2 separate regions of the Homo sapiens genome follow, and region 2 is linked to region 1. The links are contacts of gene promoters, found by promoter capture Hi-C in blood cells and fetal thymus (Javierre and others, 2016). All regions are on one chromosome and are shown on one strand. Each heading gives the region's core, a stretch centred on a gene start or on the middle of the fragment in contact. The rest is flanking DNA. Distances are from core to core; before and after follow the strand shown.

The links. The method cuts DNA at HindIII sites, captures the fragments that hold promoters and counts their contacts. A CHiCAGO score of 5 or more calls a contact.
Region 2: a fragment that was not itself captured here is called in contact with the fragment with the promoter of SPEF1 in region 1 in 1 of 17 cell types (endothelial precursors); the score reaches 8.5 in endothelial precursors.

Annotation. Positions count from the first base shown.
Region 1 is chr20:3,779,944-3,783,657 of GRCh38, reverse strand. It overlaps SPEF1 (sperm flagellar 1), which reads left to right and starts at 2,210. Exons shown (of 7, transcript NM_015417.5): 1 at 2,210-2,479. The coding sequence starts at 2,371. RefSeq lists enhancers at 1,911-2,060, 2,022-2,316. The HindIII fragment of the contact is 3,327 bases long and covers 1-3,281 here.
Region 2 is chr20:3,715,728-3,719,237 of GRCh38, reverse strand. No RefSeq gene overlaps it. Among named protein-coding and RNA genes, the nearest start is that of SIGLEC1, 4.9 kb to the right of the region's middle. RefSeq lists an enhancer at 2,183-2,352 and a silencer at 2,708-2,767. The HindIII fragment of the contact is 716 bases long and covers 1,849-2,564 here.

The DNA of each region.
Region 1 (3,714 bases), core at 961-3,460:
CAAATCAATATGCACGTGGGGACTAGGCCTACCGAGGCTGGTTTGAAGGCCTTTGCAGGAGTGGGGTCAGGACAGAAAGAAAGGAGTGTTGGGGCAGCTTCTGGGGTCCAGATTGGAGTTTGGAGGGGCATATAGGTCACCCTTTGGTTTACCTTTGGTGCCTTAAGAGGGAGCCCTTTAGGCCTTTCAGTGATTGGCATATCCAAGCCTGGTGGCCACCTCTAGGCACAGTGGCAGGAGGAAGGTGAAATTGCTAGGAACAGGTTGCACCCCCAAGAGGCAGAGGATGGTTGGTAACTCCCTGTGCAGTGCCTTCCAGGGGGCCCCCAGTACAAAGGTGAGGTCAGGTCCCTTTGCTGATCCTACCCTTTTTCCTTTCAGAGCCAGCCCCTCCCTCCCTACCCCTCCTCACTGAGGCCCTCAGGCCCCAGCAGTTCCAACCAAGGGAGGGCCTGGGCTTGAGCATGGCTGGCAGCTCTGGGCCCCAAACCGGTTTTCCCACCTCACCTGAGGCTGGCACATCACTTCTGTGTTTCCTTCCCATCCCCGGCCCACCTTTACCACCAAGTTTCTCCTCTCCAACACTGGGAATGTTAATGGGGGAGTATCCAGTTCATCTCTTGTCCCTGGCCTGCCCTGGTTATGGCCCCTTATGGAAAATCAAGACCACTATATATGACTTTAAAACAAGAAATGGGGGTGACTTCCACTCTTGGCCTCTACTTCTGGCATTCAGGAATCCCCTCCAGGCCTTGAGGGCTTTGAAGTGACAACAAAAAGTAGTTGGGATCCCCCTTGCCACCACCTTCCCTCCCGAAATCCGAGCCCTGGAGTTGGAGACCAGAAGGCCACAAGGAAGCCCCACCTGCTCTCGAGTGAGCAGGAGGAGCATTGCCTGCTTGCCCAGGTGCTCCTGTTTAACCCAGCTACCTCACCGCAGGTTCCAACAAGACGAATTACTTCCATTTGTCTCCTGCGAAAAAGAACAGTTCTTGCTGGAACTGAGACTGTCTCATTAATGATAGTACCAGCTGATACTAATAGGGCCCCTGCTCTGTGCTAAATGCTTTAGATGCTCACAAAGCCCCTATAAGGTAGGTAAAGCCATGAGAAACCAGGCAGCGGTCCGGTCAGGTGCCCAAGGCCATGCCGTTAGTCAAACTCTCTTCTCATCCTGACTCTAGAAGTACCTCTTCACTAAGGAGGGACCCATATTCCTAACCCCCTTATGGGTACTGCAATGAATTTGTTTCTTTCTTTTCTTTTCTTTCTTTTTTTTTTTTTTTTGAGATGGAGTCCCGCTCTGTCGCCTAGGCTGGAGTGCAATAGCATGATCTTGGCTCACCAACCTTTGACTCCCGGGTTCAAGCGATTCTCTTGCCTCAGCCTCCTCAGTGGCTGGGATTACAGGCATCCACCACCACACATGGCTAACTTTTTTTTGTATTTTCAGTAGAGACGGGGCGAAAGCCATGTTGGCCAGGCTGGTCTCGAACTCCTGACCTCAGGTGATCTGCCCGCCTCGGCCTCCCAAAGTGCTGGGATTACAGGCATGAGCCACTGTGCCCTGCCTGAAATGAATTTCTAATCCATGGAAGAATAGCTCATTGACGGGTGATGAGGGGTTTGGGACAAATAAGTGAGAACCATCGTCATTTCACAAAGGAGGAAATAGAGTTAAGAAGTTAAATGACCTGCCAAGGTACTGGCCTTGAACTCTGGTGTTCTCCCTGGGAGTCTGGGTTACCTATTAAATACCCCACTAGAACACTGCTGGGAAGGGCGAGTGGCAATGGCCCCATGAGCATAGAGTTTTTGGAGAGGGACGAAGCAGGAAGCAGTTGTATCACGCAATCCATTTGGGTGGCAGATTATCAACAACGCACCCCCAAATAAAGCTGACCAACACTGGAGTGCTCCCTTCACTTGGGACTAAAGGGCTGAAGGGCCAAGAAGGGGGATCCCCACCCTAGGGGTGCAGATGCAGGAATTCTGGGGTCCTGGTTGGCTTTGGCTGGTCCCAAAATGGATGAGTGGCTGGTCACTAGGTGGCGTGGGCACAGAAGTGATGCTTTCTTGGGAAGAAGACAAGGGCAGCTAACCGCCTTTTCAAAGCTCGGGCCTGAGAGGAGGTAGCGGGGAGGGGATAAAACTACAACTCCCAGAAGTCTTTGTACCCAGGAGAGTCGGGAATGGTTTCCATGGTTTCAGAAAACAATATGGCCGCTCCCAGCTGGGACGTGAGTCTCTGGATTAGGCAGGCAGAGGCAGTTATGGGCTTCTGCAGTGGCGAGAAAGGAAGCGCCTGAAGGGTCGTGAGGCTGGGGCGGGACCCGGCACCGCTGGGGCGGCCAGGCCGTGAGGACGCCAATGGCGAGCAGCGTGGACGAGGAGGCGCTGCACCAGCTGTACCTGTGGGTAGACAACATCCCTCTGTCCCGGCCCAAGCGAAACCTCTCCCGGGACTTTAGCGATGGAGGTGTGTGCCCTTGTGTGTCTGCATGTTCTGTCCTGTATGTTCGTGTGTAACGGGTCTCTGTGCAAACTCTTTGTGTTTGTGTGCTTGTGGGAGTGGGGAGGAATCTGCCTCCTGGGACTTCAAATTTTAGATGTGTGTGCTTGTTTTCTATTTGCATCTGTGTGTGAACGATGTGTGTCCATATATGTATGTCTACATGTTCTATCCTGTGTGCATGTTGGGGGGGGTGCCTCTAACTCCCTCCAGGGACATTAATGATTAAGATATGTGTCTGCATATGTATTTATGCATTTCTGTATGTGCTCACTCATTGCTATGTGTTCTATGTCTTCTGGGAGTCTGAGCATGTGTGTGTTCATATGTGTTGACATGTTTAGTCTTGTATTTGGGGGGGTCTTGTGTGCATGTGTTTCTTTGTGATTGTGAAGGTGTTTGTGTTTCTAGGAATGTCTCCTGGGATCTCAATGACAGAAATACTTATCTGTCATCTTTTCATGTCAAGTACTTCTATGCATCTCTGTATCTGTATATTTGGGGAGGCTGTGTGCATATGTGGCTTTTTGTGCTTCTGTCTATGTGTGTTCTACATGTGTGCCTATGTGTGTCTAGCATGTGTTTGTTCTATGTGTCTACACATTCTGCCCTATGTATCTATGTGTAGGGGGATCTTATCACATGTGTCTCTGCTTACGTGAGTCTTTTACTCTCCTGGAACTTTGGTGTTGGAGTGTGTGTGTGTGTGTGTGTGTGTGTGTGTGTGTGCATCATGCATCCATGTGAATTCCCTGGGCTCCTGAAAGCTTCTCTTGGAGACTCATTCTCTTTTTTTTTTTTTTTTTTTTTTGAGACAGAGTCTCACTCTTGTCGCCCAGGCTGGAGTGCAGTGGCATGATCTCAGCTCACTGCAACCTCCACCTCCTGAGTTCAAGCGATTCTTCTGCCTCAGCCACCCAAGTAGCTGGGTTTACATGCACCACCACACCTGGCTAACTTTTGTATTTTTAGTAGAGATGGGGTTTCACCATGTTGGCCAGGCTGGTCTCGAACTCCTGGCCTCAGGTGATCTACCCGCCTCAGCCTCCCAAAGTGTTGGGATTACAGGTGTGAGCCCCTGCACTGGCTGACTCATTCTCTACTGGAGGACCAGAGACTCAGTATTCCCATTCCTAAATTAGTGGGGAAGGGATGCAGCTCCTCTGAGGTATGCTGGAGACTTAGTCTCCTCTACCTATCAC
Region 2 (3,510 bases), core at 957-3,456, 64 kb after region 1:
CTGTGACTCAGTTTCCTGTAAGTGGAGATAACAATAGCATCTAGCTCAGAGGGTTGCTAAATGAGTTAATAAGTATAAAATTGTCAGAACACTGGATGGGTGTGGTGGCTCATGCCTGTAATCCTGGCACTTTGGGAGGCTGAGGCGGGTGGATCACCTGAGGTCAGGAGTTTGATACTAGACTGGCCAACATGGTGAAACCATGTTGTAACCCGGTCTCTACTAAAAATACAAAAATTAGCCGGGTGTGGTGGGATGTGCCTATAATACCAGGTACTCGGGAGTCTGAAGCAGGAGAATCGCTTGAACCCAGGAGGCAGAGGTTGCAGTGAGCTGAGATTGAGCCACTGCACTCCAGCCTGGGTGACAGAAAAATACTCCATCTCCAAAAAAAAAAAAAAAAAAAAAAGTTGTCATAATACTGCCAGGCCCACAGTAACGGTGCAATAGCTCTTTGTTCTTTGCTGTAGGTTTTTATTTATTTATTTATTTATTTATTTATTTATTTTTTATTTTTTGAGATGGAGTCTCACTCTGTCACCCAGGCTGGAGTGCAGTGGCATGATCTCCGCTCTCTGCAACCTCTACCTCTAGGGTTCAAGCAGGAGGGCAGGGCTTCATCTCCCCCTACTTCTTAGCACTGGGGCCCCAGGATTTACTCGGGCACATCACCTGTTAGAATAAAGACATGAGACCATGTGACTAACCTCTAGCCAGTGGAATATAAGCAGCAATGTAGTGTGCAATTTAAAGAATTACCTTTTTTGTTGTTGTTAAGAGACAAGATCTCACTCTGTCACTCAGGCTGGAATGTAGTGACATAATCATAGTTCAATGCAGCCTCGAGCTCCTGGGTTCAAGTGAACCTCCTACTTCAGCCTCCCAGCTACTCGGGAGGCTGAGGCAGGAGAACCCCACCACACCCAGCTAATTTTTGTATTTTTAGTAGAGACAGGGTTTCACCATGTTGGCAAGGCTGGTCTTGAACTCCTGACCTCAGGTGATCCACCCATCTTGGCCTCCCAGAGTGCTGGGATTACAGGCGTGAGCCAATGCGCCTGGCCTGTTTGTTTCTGGATCTTTCTCTTTGTGTTGGTCTTCCTCACCTGTCTGGTAATACCTGGTAACCAATTCATCTTTATGAACAAAGGGCAGGTTGATTGATACTGGAACTCACCTAGGGTATTTCCTCTGCCCTGCAGTGTTACATGTGGGGGTGGAGAGGTACGTGTGCCAGCTACCAACCCTTTGGGGTGTATTGAGTCCCTGTAGAGAGTCCACTTCTGCTCCGGCCTCTGGGGCAGCTTTCTCTCAGCGTGCTTTGGCTCTGGTTTCCTTTACCCGCATCTGTTCCTGAACGTGATCCTCCCTCTTTCTATCTTCTAGAATTAAATCAAAATCCTGTGCAGTGGATACTTCCCATCCCCCAGCCATCCTGTTCCCAGCCCTTCTGTCTCCTTTTCCCTTTGCTTACTGTGCTCTCAGTGGTATTGGATGGGCCAGGAATGGCAGAGACAAGTTCTCAGTCCACCATCTTGAACTAGATGTTGGTGTGGTGGTTTAAATATGTGTGCGTGTGCGTGTGTGTGTTTAGATGGAGTCTTGCTCTGTCACCCAGGCTGGAGTGCACTGGCACAATCTTGGCTCACTGTGACCGCCACCTCCTGGGTTCAAGTGATTTTCCTGCCTCAGCCTCCTGAGTAGCTGGGATTACAGATGCCTGGCTAATTTTTGTATTTTTAGTAGAGATGGGGTTTCACCATGTTGGCCAGGCTGGTCTCAAACTTCTGACCTCAGGTTATCCGCCCACCTCAGCCTCCCAAAGTGCTGGGATTACAGGCATAAGCTTCCGTGCCCAGACTAAATATTCTTTTTTTTTTTTTTTGAGACAGAGTCTGTCTCTGTGGCCCAGGCTGGAGTGCAGCGGCGCGATCTCGGCTCACTGCAAGCTCCGCCTCCCGGGTTCACGCCATTCTCCTGCCTCAGCCTCCCGAGTAGCTGGGACTACAGGCGTGAGCCACCGCGCCCAGCCGGCTAAATGTTCTTAACTCCATCTGACTCTGTACAGACGGTGTCCTTTGGGGACTGCATGTGTTCCACTGTATGCCCAGACCCTGAGCAGGGAATAAAACGGGAGGACATGTACATGGGTCTTTTAACTTTCTTGTAACGGGCATCCTTGGGCTTGTTGACTTTCCCTGGAAGTCTCTGGCTTCAGAGCCGGTCCCTTAGTGGGTCATTCCACCTAGACCTTGTGGTTGTGTTGAGGAGGGAGGTCCCTTCAGTGTCTCTGAAAACCCCAGAGCCTTGAAACACTCAGGGACAGAAGTGGGTGAGTACAAGATGCATGAACAGGAGAGGAGAGCCAGAGGGACAGATGACAGACTGGGTGAGGTGACTGAATGAGTGAGGGTCCAGGGTGTGGCTATGAGAGTAGAGGTCACCTCGGGTGGAGGAGAGAGGAGAGTACGGCCTTCAGATACCCAATAAGAGAAGCAACAGCAGAGCCAACATTCTCAGAGCTCTTTTGATGTTCCAGGCCCTGGGAACTCTTCATACAAGCTTTCCAGAGGACTCTAGCTTCTGAGTCATTGAGTGACTCCTGGGATCGTAGAGCAGGTGATGGATATGCCTGGATTTGAACCCAGCTCTATGCAGGACCTAGGCTTTTAGCCAGTGAGCTACATGACTCCCATCTGCCCCAAGCTGACTACAGTATGGGTCTCAAAGATCTCCCTTGGGCCTCTATAGACTGAGTTGTCCCCACCTGAGACACAGCAAGTGGGTCTGAAGGCTGAGGAAGCAGAGGGCTCTGGCACCCTCTGGGGGAGGCAGGAGGCTCTGCAGAGATACTGGCAAGGAGGTGGGCAGGGGCCTGAGGCTGGAATCTGGGTAGGTCCAAGGAATGAATGACTGAATTAAGGTCCTGGTTGCTCCACAGGAGGGCAGGGCTTCATCTCCCTCTACTTCTTAGCACTGGGCCCCCAGGATTCACTCGGGCACATCACCTGTTAGAATAAAGACTTAAGACCATGTGACTAACTTCTAGCTTCTAGTGGAATATAAGCAGCAATAAAGTGTACAATTTAAAGAATTACCTTTTTTGTTGTTGTTAAGAGACAAGATCTCACTCTGTCACTCAGGCTGGAATGCAGTGACACAATTATAGTTCACTGCAGCCTCAAGCTCCTGGGTTCAAGTGAACCTCCTGCTTCAGCCTCCTGAGTGGCTGGTATTGCAGGAGTGACCCACCACATCAGCAATTTAAGGAGTTATCTTAAAGTAGAGGGCATGGCCTACTTTGTCCTTTCCTCCATCCTGCTTTCCCGAATGCAGATACAGTGGCTGGAGCGCAAGCAGCCACTTTGGACAATGACTGGAAGCAGCCCATTGACAATGACTGAGCCAAAAAATAAAAAGGGATCTAGTTTCATGATTGTGGAGTTGTCATATCATCTTGGATGCCAACACTTACTTGAGGGAGAGGGTGAAACACTTCTATTTTATTTA